Regions from separate parts of the Homo sapiens genome. Here regions 2 and 3 are each linked to region 1. Evidence: promoter capture Hi-C in human tissues and cell types (Jung and others, 2019). All regions are on one chromosome and are shown on one strand. The core of a region is centred on a gene start or on the middle of the fragment in contact, and the rest is flanking DNA. Distances in the headings are between cores, read along the strand shown.

What was found. The method cuts DNA at HindIII sites, captures the fragments that hold promoters and counts their contacts. A contact is called where the count stands out against the background at its distance.
Region 2: the fragment with the promoter of ANKRD11 here is called in contact with a fragment that was not itself captured in region 1 in 2 of the 25 tissues and cell types used here (hippocampus and spleen).
Region 3: the fragment with the promoter of APRT here is called in contact with a fragment that was not itself captured in region 1 in 2 of the 25 tissues and cell types used here (H1 embryonic stem cells and lymphoblastoid cells).

What each region holds. Positions count from the first base shown.
Region 1 is chr16:89,101,389-89,105,084 of GRCh38, forward strand. It overlaps ACSF3 (acyl-CoA synthetase family member 3), which reads left to right. Exons shown (of 11, transcript NM_001243279.3): 4 at 1,216-1,371. Among named protein-coding and RNA genes, the nearest start is that of ACSF3, 9.4 kb to the left of the region's middle. The HindIII fragment of the contact is 6,924 bases long and covers 1-3,696 here.
Region 2 is chr16:89,488,973-89,492,668 of GRCh38, forward strand. ANKRD11 (ankyrin repeat domain containing 11) reads right to left here and starts at 1,589. Exons shown (of 13, transcript NM_013275.6): 1 at 1,273-1,589. It overlaps LOC101930112 (a long non-coding RNA gene), which reads left to right and starts at 1,998. Exons shown (of 2, transcript XR_933895.4): 1 at 1,998-2,414. It overlaps LOC101927863 (a long non-coding RNA gene), which reads right to left. Exons shown (of 5, transcript NR_188547.1): 5 at 3,431-3,661. RefSeq lists enhancers at 135-648, 649-1,163 and silencers at 445-514, 555-664, 745-794, 1,369-1,848, 2,049-2,138 and 1 more. The HindIII fragment of the contact is 15,043 bases long and covers 1-3,696 here.
Region 3 is chr16:88,810,678-88,814,373 of GRCh38, forward strand. It overlaps APRT (adenine phosphoribosyltransferase), which reads right to left and starts at 1,251. Exons shown (of 5, transcript NM_000485.3): 1 at 1,143-1,251; 2 at 873-979. The coding sequence starts at 1,222. It overlaps GALNS (galactosamine (N-acetyl)-6-sulfatase), which reads right to left. Exons shown (of 14, transcript NM_000512.5): 14 at 3,057-3,696. RefSeq lists enhancers at 1-120, 1,626-2,310, 2,311-2,994 and silencers at 1,004-1,403, 1,654-1,913. The HindIII fragment of the contact is 27,772 bases long and covers 1-3,696 here.

The DNA of each region.
Region 1 (3,696 bases), core at 113-2,612:
AGCACTCCGGGTGGGCTCCGGGCCAGAAGCACATCTTTTCATTCGCTTTTCTGTGGAGTCATTCACAGTTGTCACCATCCTGCAGACCCGTGTGAGATACAGGGACGCAGGCCCTCGGGGTGTGGCCGCTGGCCTCACTGGCCACGCAGGACGGCTCTGGGAGCGTCCAGGTGTAGAGGGATTGAGGGGCCGCCGAGTGACCCTGCCAGGACCATGCGGCATGAGGTCAGAAGGGACCACTCACTGCCTGTGATGCTGAGGGGCTTTTCGGAGGCCAGCCACGTGTTAGGATGCGTGGTCAGGACCCCACATACACCCGGGTCTTACTCGTTTTTTGTGTGTCCTGTGACCTCAGTCACATCTTCACAGAACTCTCCAACCACATCACTTACCTGGCATTTGTACAGTGTCATAACGTCTCCTATGCACTTGAAGCAATCAAGTAAAAATGAAAACCAAAAGCCAGGAAGGGGAAGGCAGGAAGTGTACCCCACGGAGTCGTGGGCTGACGAGGCGCCATGAGCACACAGCAGGCTGGGCCCTGGGTGGCCTGCGCCGTCACTCCTGGAAGCGGCGCGCCTGTCGGGAGGGACGGGCTCTGGACTCCTCTGTCCTTGCTGAGGGGAGTGACATGCACATGTGCTTCTCCCTGGAGCCTGTGCAGGCAGCAGGCAGTGTCCTCCGTGAGATTGGACAGAGGATTCAGTGGGCCGTGCCTCACGCTGCTTCTCAGTAAGAGCTGAGGGTGTGCTCTGGAGCCTGGCCTGGGTTCTGTCCCGGCTGAGCAGGTGACGATAATTCACGAATCGGCAGAGCTCTGTGTGGGCAGTGCTGTCACCTGAGCCAGTGGTTGGGCTGGGAGTCGATTCCAGCCTGAATGGCGCTGGGTCCCTGAGTCCCAGGCTTGGGCAGGGGCGGAGCTCTGTCGACCTGGTGTCTGCAGAGCCACTCCCCGACCTTCTAAATTCCCTAAAGCCTCTGGCTGTGTGTGGCGCTGTCCTCTGTCCCCAGGGTAAGTGAGTGACCCAGCAGATCTGCTGTGGTTTTGTCGTCATCTTGAGAGGCTGCTAAAGGGGAGCAACAAAGAGCCAGCCTTCTCCTTCCCCTTCCTCAGTGGGGAGGCCCAGAGCTCCTTTCCGTGAGCCCGAGGTCTGTGTGTGCTGTTGCGGGCCACAGTCTTGCTCTTGCTCTCAGCTGTGCTCTCGTCCCCTGCAGGTGACCGGGCTGGTCCACAAGTGGGCATGGACCAAAGACGACGTGATCCTCCACGTGCTCCCGCTGCACCACGTCCATGGTGTGGTCAACGCGCTGCTCTGTCCTCTCTGGGTGGGAGCCACCTGTGTGATGATGCCTGAGTTCAGCCCTCAGCAGGTGAGTTGGGGTCAGGGCTCTCGGTTGCACCCTCAGACTAGGCGCCTTTCCCCTGTCGGGGCCAGGGCTCTCAGCCGCGCCCTCAGCCTAAGCGCCTTTCGCTGGTTGGGGTCAGGGCTCTCGGCCGCGCCCTCAGACTAGGCATCTTTTCCTGGTGTGCAGTCGCCCCTATCCACAGGGGACGTGCCAATGCCGAGACCCTGGGTAGCATGGAACCCTGTACCTACGATGCTTTTTGCTATACATACGTACCTATGATAAAGCTTAATTTATAAGTTAGGCACAGTAAGAGGTTAACAATAACAGAACAGTTATAACCATGTACTGTAATCAAGTTATGTGAAAGTGCTCTCTCTCTTCAAAATACCTTCCGGTACTGTGCTCGTCTGTTGTGAGACTGCAGTGGGCCACGCGTCATTGAAACCGTGAATAGTGAGACTGGATGAGCGGAGGTGACTGTACAGGCCCTGCTGCCCGCGAGCTCCTGCGGCTGCGGCGAATGCTCACGCGCTTGGTTTAAAATAATGCGAGTTTGTTCTTACATGCTTGGAGGCCAGGATTCTGAGACGAGTCTTGCGGAGCTGATGCTGGGTGTGGTAGGGCTGCTCCGTCAGGAGGCTCCAGGGCAAAGTCCGTTCCTGCCTCTTGCAGCTCTGGAGGCCGCCTGTGCCCTTGGCTCCAGCTGCTTCACGTCCAGCTCTGCTTCTGCAGGCACACGGCCTTCTCTCCGTAGTCAGGGCTCCCTCGGCTTCCCTTTGTGCAGCCTATGCGGATATTCCAAGATCATCTCCCATCTTGAGGTCCTTCGCTTCATCCACCTGCAGTTCCCACCACTGCGAGAGGTGACACATTCGGGGTGTAGGGCGTAGGGCGTGACCCTTTGAGCTATGATGTGGCCACTGTGGCAGCCCTCGGTTACTCCAGAGTACTGGCCCAGCTGGAGAGCTGCTTGCTGCGGAGGGTTACTTTGGAGTATTGGCCCAGCTGAAGGGCTGCTGTGGAGTCTCTGTCTCCCCTCTCTGCATGGCTTCCTCTGTAGCGTCTCCCTTGGAGCAGGCAGGGAGGGAAGGACGCGGTGCTGGTCACACAGAGCGCTGGGGTGGGAGCAGTCATCGCCGAGCTGCTGCGCGCAGCCTTGCCTGTGCAGGGCTGTCTCCAGGCAGATCAGGGATGCTGCTTTGGAGGGAAAGGACCTGGGCTCGAGGCGGGACCCTGTGCACAGCATCGGGCCTCGCCTGTCAGTTGGGGATGGCGGTGGCTTTTAGGAGTTGCTGTGGCCCTGTGTGCATTCTAGCTGACTGCAGGCAAGAGTCACTCACCAGGCTGCAGAGGGCATGAGGGGCAGGCCTTGAGCCCACAGGAAGGACACGGTGTGCGTATGTCACAGGTGTGGTGAAGCAGAGCCCTCCGGTGAGGCCATGGACGTTTACCAGCCTCTGCCCGTATAATGAATATGCCTTTTATTCACAGGAAAAAAAGTTTAACACGTGAATGTATGGAAAAGCCCTTAGAATTTGGATCGTATCATGATGGTTCTCAGCACAGAGGAGCCCATCTCTGAGGCCAGATGCCTGGGACTGGGCTCTTGGTCTGTGCGGGGTTGTTCTGCAGGGCAGACGTCCCGGCCAGCAGAGGCACAGCCCTAAAGCCCAGAGCACAGCAGCCACCAGTGGCCGGCCCCACACTCACCGCTCTTGCCAGGACTCTTCCTGTCTGAAGTCTTTCTGGCCCCATCGAAGGCTGTGTGGAGCTCTGAGGCCTCTGACCGGGAGCTCAGGACCCAAACCCTAGTCAGGTGTGAATTTCGCCAGGAAGGGGTCCCTGCAAGCAGTCAGCCCTGCCCACCTTCCCTCTGCTTCTCCTGCCGCTGAGAGGCCCATCCTCTTCTCTGCAGGGCATCCAGCCCCACACGGTGGCTGGAGGTGGAGAGAAGGCAGCTTTTCTGGCCCTCCACCTCTCTGACCTTCAGTCTCATCCCCGGAAAATAAGGTTGGAGGCCGGCTCACAGTGGGCACAAACTTGGAAAAGAGAAGGGGCTCTTCTCTAGCCTCCACTGGAGGCAAGGTCTCACAAGAGAAGCCAGTATGTAGAACAGCTTTGTACGAGCAAGTGAGCCTGTTTCTTCACAGATGATAACATTGGGCTTTAGAGAAAGACCTCTTTAAAATCTAGCAGTTACTACCGTGCCAAAGAGAGGTGGCTGCCAGCACACTTGCGTGATTAGCCGTCAGCTCCCTCCACTGCTCTTCAGGACGCCTGTAGCCACAGAGCCTCCCTGAGGGCCCCGTCGCCAGGGTCACCTCCTGAAGAGCCTCCCTGAGGGCC
Region 2 (3,696 bases), core at 339-2,838, 390 kb after region 1:
TTAGACCAGCTTCATCTTCCCAAGCCTCTTCCAAAACTTCTTGGAAGCTGATATATAACACTAACCTTCCAAAAACACAACAGAAGCAGAAAATCTTAATGGGGCACCAGGAAAAGAGCAAGCCTCGAGAAAAATCAAGACTCCCCCCGACCAACCTTCCCAAATAACACAAACACAAGAGTTAACAGTACAATCCCTCTTTGAGAGGGGACTGAATCAATGTGGCAGGGCCAACCCTACACACACACACACACGCGCGCGCGCGCGCGCGCGCACACACATACACCACACACACAGCTACCGCCCTGCCAGGGGATGATGAAATGAGGAACGGAAATTAACATTTCAGGCAACGTCTCACATTGTTCCTTGAGGCCAAGGGCTGCTGTTGCAGCCGCCACCGCCACCGCTTTCCTCCCAGCCACCCCCCACACCCGCCCGCCTACCCTCCCCCTAACACCCCCCACACGGCTGCCCGCATTCCTGCCCCTCCTCGGCCTACGCGCGCCTCCTGCAACCCCGACGCCCCCAGGTCCCCAGTTCGCCCTCCCCCTCCGGCTCGGAGCCCGAGAGCCGCCTGCTCTCATTTCAAAACAGCGATAATAATAGGGACGCTGAGAATAACAACTACGACCAGCACGGCGAAGGCGCCCCTCTCGCGGGTCAGAGGTCGGCGCCCCAGCTCCGCAGAACCCGGCGCCCGGCCAGCGCCCCCTGGCAGCCCCTCCCGGCAGCCTCAGGTCCCCAAGACCTGCAGGCCCGCCCCGAAGCCCCCCGTCCGCCCCTCACGGCCGCTCCGAGCCCCCGAGGCCCGCCCCGGAGCCCCCTGTCCGCCTCTCACGGCCGCCCCGGGCCCCCACGGCCCCCAGGCCCGCCCCGGAGCCCCCAATCGGCCCCTCAGAGCCGCCGCGGGCCCCCGGCCACCCAGGCCCGCCCGGAGCCCCCGTCCGCCCCTTACGGCCGACCCAAGCTCCGCCGACCTCCCAGGCCCCCCCCGGAGCCCCCTATGGGCCCCTCACGGCCACCCCGGGCCCCCAAAGACCCCCGGCTGCCCCGAACCCGGACCCGTAGGCCCGCTCCGGGACCCATTATTGGTCCCTCACGATCGCCCCGGGCCCCCAAAGACCCCCGCCCACCCGGCCCCGACCCCCCAGGCCCGCCCGGAGGCCCGCGGCGCAGCTCCGTCGCCGGGGAAGGCCTGCAGGCCGCAAGGCCGCGCGAATGCCCCGTGCCCGCCCCGACCACCGCCCCCAGACCAGCGGCGCCTCTCACCGTGCTCCGAGGGCTGCGCGGCTCCGCGACGGCTCAGCGGCGGGGCGCGGGCGCTGCCCATGCAGCCCGCGGCCGCGTTTCCCGGGCCGCGCGGCCCGAGCGGCAAGGCGGCGGCGGCGGCGGCGCGGGCTCGGGCCCGGCAGAGCTGCGAGGGACGGCGGGAGGCGAGCCCGCCCCTCGGGCGCGCCCACGGCTCGGGCGAGAGCCGCGGCTCCCGGTGCGGACGCTACTGATGGGGCGTCTGGCCGCGGGCTCGGCGGCGGCGCCTCCCCGGCTGGGGCCCTCGGTCCATCGCGCACCGTCTCAGGGCGGCCTCTGGCTCCAGGACCCAGCGGCGGCTGCGGCGGGAGCCGGCCGCATGAGACGCTCCCGCCCATTGGCCCGCCGTATCCGCCACCGCCATTGGCCCGCCCCGGCCGGCCGCAGGGGCTGTGCACGTCACAGCGCCGTGAGTTAGTGCGCTAATGGAGTGAAGGAGAGAGGCGGGATTGACAGCCTCTCTGGCGGTCCGGAGGCGGGACTAGGAGGACGTCCCGGTAACGATTGGGCAGGGTCCTGCGTAAGGGCGCATGCGACACTGGAAGTAGCGAGCAACTGGATTGGCTGCCTCCGTCGCAAAGGAGGGTGGGTCTTGCATTCTCGGGCCTGACGATTGGTCTTTCCAAGTGCCGGAAGCAACAGGGATGTCGTCTGGAAACAAAATCTGGTATTGAAGCGCAGGGAGACAAAACGTCCACCTCTAGAGCCGAGGCGGCGGTTGCCTGTCGCGTGCCCGTGGTCTTCTGCCTGCCCCCGGACATCTCGGGCCACGTCCGGCCCGGCCTCCGGCCGCGCTGCCCTAACGGGCGTCACGGGGCATGAAGAGCTCTGGGCGGCTGCGAGGGGAGGGTACCGGGGCAGCGGGGCGGTCGCTCGGGGCTCCCGCGCGGTGACTCTTGCTCTGCCGTCGAAGAGAACGGCCCTCGGGCGCGTCGCGGCCGCGGCTCCAGAGCCCCTGGGCCTCGCGCTCTGAGAGCCTGAGCCGCTTGAGGAGGCCAAGCGCCCACGAACCGCATTCCCTGCCTTGCTAGTTAGTTCTCCAACACGCGAAAAAGGTAGACGAGGACTGGTTTTCTTTGCAGCTAAAATGAATCAAGCCTCTGGTAAGTGTGGATCCTGTTCTAAGTGCACCTGTGTTCTCCTCCAGAACTAAACCAAAAAGCAAGGTGAACAAAATCGGTGCTCCTTCAGTTTCTTCTTTAGTTCTGCATGTTACTGGGGACTAAGACAACGGGTAAGCAAACTATTTATAGGCCTCAATTTACGAAATAACGGAATTGCAAAGTCCGGAGTGGATAGGACCGTGAGGACGGTCTTTTTTCTTGGGCAACACGCATTATGGTCGAGAGATCAGTTGTTAAACCGCCCCTGTTCAAATCCCAGCCCTACCAGTGACTAGCGGTCACCCTGTAGGCTTTGTCTCTCAGATCTTCAGTTTCTTGGTGGGTAAAATGGGAACTACAAGTAGCACCTATTCTTTTTTTTTTTTTTTTTTGAGTCAGGGTCTCACTCTGTCGCCCATGCTGGAGTGCAGTGCTAACTGCAGCCTCAGCTTCCCGGGCTCAGAGGATCCTCCCACCTTAGCCTACTAAGTAGGTGGGACCACAGTCAGGCATCACCACACCCGGCTAATTTTTTAAATTTTCGTAGAGATAGGCTCTCTGTGTGTTTCCCAGGCTGGTCTTGAAATCCTGGACTCAAGCGACCCTCCCTCCTCAGCTTCCCAAAGTGCTGGGATTAGAGGCATGAGCCACGGTGCGGGCCAGGAGCACCTATTTCATAGGCCCATCGGGAAGATTAAATGAAGGGGCTGTGGAGGCTGTAGCACGGTGCTTGGCACGTATGTGAGCTCTGGGGAAACATTAGTTATGCTATAACTGGACCTTCAGCCTTCTCTAGGCAGCCAGATTTCGGGCTCCACCCACAACTAGTCACGCCATTGGATGAGGGGTGAGCGCCTGATAAAAACAGCCGGCGTATGCGCTGATGTGCGTTCACGAAGAGGTGATCCAAGTGTTTCCATATTTGCCTCACTGGACGAAGTATTTGGTAAAATTGACGAAATTCAGAGTCCTGGACCCCATCATCACCTATGGAATTATTCTAGATGAGAGGGGACTAGGCATTGGCATTTTTTTATTTTGGTCCCTTACAATACTCATCATTGGGAAAATTTGAAAAACATCAACCTAAGCCGTCATGCTCGCACTCGAGAATGTTTCCCCTAGGCTGATTGACGGGCAGTGGTATTCACAGGTGCGGTCAGCGCAGTCCAGCTTCAAACTTCCGGGGATCAAGTGATCCTCCCGCCTGAGGAGCTGAGATTACAGGCCTGCACCACCATGCTCATCTATCAGGGGAATTTAAAGTGCAAAATATTAATAT
Region 3 (3,696 bases), core at 1-2,500, 290 kb before region 1:
AGGAATGTTACCCATCACCTACCCGGAGCTGCTTCCAGGTCAGAGTGCAGACCTGGGTCTGTCTTTTAAGGGACCACTTCTTAGCTGTGTGTTCCTAGGGGAGTCACCACCCCTCTCTCTGAGCTGAGCAGCCCATCTGTAACTGGGCTGGTAGAAACCTGACAGGCCTCAGCTTACTCTCAAAGGCAGCTCTGCACCAGGGCTTCTGTCTAAAAAGGGAGTCTCTCGAGGTGGCCTGAGCTGTGATGGTTGGGGGACGCTCAGGGAAACCCTGCCCCGGCCTGGCAGGAGGTCAGGGAGGGCTTCCTGCAGGAGGTGAGAAGGGAGCTCTGGCAGTGTTGTGGCTCCAGCAAGAGCTGGCGCTTTCCTCAGGGCAGTGTCCAGGGAGTGGGCTGTCACACCCTAGGAGAGGCAAGACGGCCAGGAACACTCTGTTCTCCCTGGGCCACCTCTTGGGCTCTCCCGGAGGCCTCCAGGCCTCCCTTCCCTGGGTGGGCATTCCGTGATCTTCACCAGGGAAGGCCTGGCTCGTGGCAGGCGCTCAATACCAGCTCGCAGAAGGAACAAGAAGCAAGGCAGCTGGGCCCTGTGGATTCAGCTTGGGCACTCCAGGGAGACCAACTGACCCGGCAACTCGGTCACGCCTGTCCTGGGCTGGGGACCCGGAACCTGCGGGAAGGACGCCTGCACAGCGCGGCGGCCTCGGGGGCTCAATCTCACAACCCTTCCCGGGCGACCCAAGCACGGCGCCCGTCCCGGCGCCCCCTGAAGCACCCCAAAGGCCCTCCCCCAAGCAGACGCGCAGAGCCCACGTGCTGCCCTCGGCGCGCGCAGAGGCGGAAGCGCCCTAGATGCGGCCACTGGGCACTCGCCTGCGATGTAGTCGATGCGGCCCCCGTGGGTCGCCTTCAGGTGTCGCGCCAGGAGGCCGATGGCGGCGCGGAAGGAGGCGGGGTCCTTCAGGACGGGCGAGATGTCCCTGGACCCAAGGACAGGCCTGGTGACGCCGGGGCCGAAGGAGGGCAGGGCCCCGGGGGCGAAAGACGAGGGTTCCCGCCCCGCCCGCCCGGAGGTCGCGGGCCACGCGCTCCCATCCGTAGGCCCGCAGGTCGGGGCGCCACGAGGGCGGCCTGTGCGTGCACCTGAATACCACGCCTGGGGTGGGGAAGTCGGGGAAGCTGCGGATCCGCTGCTCAACCAGCTGCAGCTCGGAGTCGGCCATGGCCGCGTGCGAAGAGCCAGCGGCAGCCCGAGCGCGCCTGCGCGGGGACGGGCGGGACCGCCACGAGGGGTGGGGCATCCCCGGAGGGCGGAGCGTGGGTGAGGGGCGGGGCATCCGTCGCCGGAAGCCTGTACCGTATTTCATGGACTCCTAGGCGCCATCGATTTTAAGACGCGCTCGCATTCCACGCACCACTGAGCAGAACGTTCGAACCGGACAAAAGTGCGAGTCAAGGCGCCCTTCCTTGTCTCGGGCTACGCTTCTGACTGCAGCCAGGCAGCTGTGGGCCGGGGCCTTGGCGGCTGGAGGAGGGGCGTGAGCTGGTCTCGCCCACGCACCTGGCGCGCGTACGGGCCGCGCCCTTTCTCCTTTATTGGCCGAGATCCCCACGCTGCGCGCGGGAGGCTGGCGCGCGGGGTGGAGAAGGGCGTGAGGAAGCGGTCCAAGTAGCAGGAGGGCGGTGCAGGGCCCGGAGGGAGCAGCCCAGGGCGGAGGCGGCGGGCCTGGGCTGGACCGGCCGGGGGCGCTGGCCTCTCGCGGATGGGCCCTGCCGTTGAGGCGGCTCTTCCCCGCCCGGACCCGGGGGAGGGAGGCCGGAAGGTGTGGCCAGGCCAGGGCGCGCATCCGCGAGGGCAGAAGCCCTTCTGTCCGCCTGCAGAGGCCAGGTGACCCCTTAGCCTTGGGGTGGGGAGCTGTGAACCCCCTGGCCGCCCGAGGACTGGTACCCAGGGGGTTGTGTGAGGCATAACTCCCCCCAAACACAATTTCCTTTCAAGAAAATCCCCAGAGCTAAAATGCCTTGTGCTCTATTCCAAGACTTTTCTTCATTTCGCAACTTTTTTTTGAGAAGGACTCTCGCTCTGTCGCCCAGGATGGAGCACAGTGGCGCCATCTGGGCTCACTGCAAGCTCCACCTCCTGGGTTCCGGCCATTCTCCCGCCTCAGCCTCCCGAGTAGCTGGGACTACAGGAGCCCGCCACCACGCCCTGCTAATTTTTTGTATTTTTAGTAGAGACGCAGTTTCACTGTGTTAGCCAGGATGGTCTCGATCTCCTGACCCCGTGATCTGCCCGCTTCGGCCTCCCAAAGTGCCGGGATTACAGGCGTGAGCCACCGCGCCCGGCCCATCATTTCGCAACTTTTACAATTCAGCTTTGGCCTGGCAGTTACTGCAGAAGGGAAAACCCACTCAGTGGAAGGCAGCCCCCAGGAGCCTTCGGAGGGGGAGGCCGGAGGCTGCATGCGGCTGCTGGGGCCCCGGTTCCAGGGCGGGTGGGGGACCCATCGTCTGATGCCAAGGGGCGTGGTAGGGGCGGCTGCCTCGCAGTGTGCGGTGGTCAGGGCTGGCAAGGCCTGGGGCCTGGGCTCCAGACCCCTAGGGAAGGTGGAAATGGAGGACCCTGACATCCTCACGTCCCCGGGGAAGCTGCCACATGAGCCGGCCCCACCGGTCCAAGTGTGTGAGCTACACTTCAGCCGTCCACGTCCAGCCCAGGAGGCCTCCGCCTTCCCCTTCCTTGTTCCTGATTCTGTCTCCCAGATGGCCCGAGGGGGGCCTGGGAAGGCGTGGGGTGGGGGGGTACTGGAGGAGGGGCCTGGGGAGGGTTCAACACAGAATTGGCCCTGTGGCTTCCTTCAACCCGGGCTGTTGGGCTGGCGTGGGAACAGCAAGGAGCCCCGAGTCCTGCCCTTCAACAACCAATGTGGCGCTGGCCTCTGGAGGAGGCCGGCCGGGAGGCAGCGGGAGCTGGGCACCTGATTCTTGGCAGCTGCTGAGAAGGTGTGAAAGGAAAATAAATCTCCGGACCCCAAAATCACTCAGCCAAGAGAAAAATCAAGCTGGGAATTAGGCAAACCTGCCTCCCGTTTTATTTCTAAATAACATAGTTACAATGATAAGAAGCTACACGCCTCCCTCATAATTAGCGTCCAGGGAAATTCCTTGTGGACAAAGGACAGACGGAACTGGAAGTCATCCCTCTGGGGCTCCCCTGAGACAAACGCTTATATGATTGCCCCGTTCCCTTACTGTTTACATAAAAATGCGGATTCACTGGGCCAGACTCAATCGTGTATTCAGTGGAAGGCTGACTGAACCAATGTACGCCATACACATACTGATCTTGTGTCTCCCTAAGATGTATAAAGGCAAACTGTATCCCCAGCCACCTCAGGCACCTGTTGTCAGGACCTCCTGAGGCTGTCACAGGTGCATCCTTAACCTTGGCAAAATAAACTGAGACTGGTCTCAGATATTTGGGGTTCACAAAGGCGTGAGACGGCAGGGTCCTGAGGTCTGAGGCGCCGTGGGCGAGGAGGAGGGTCCTGAAATCTGAGGCGCCGTGGGCGAGGAGGAGGGCCAAGCACACGCCAGGGTCAGGTCCTGGGCAGGTGGAATTGTGCAGTCCCCCTGCGTCTGCAGGTGCTGTCTGTCTGGCTTGGGCAGGGTTGGGGGAGGACCGAGGCCAGAGCCA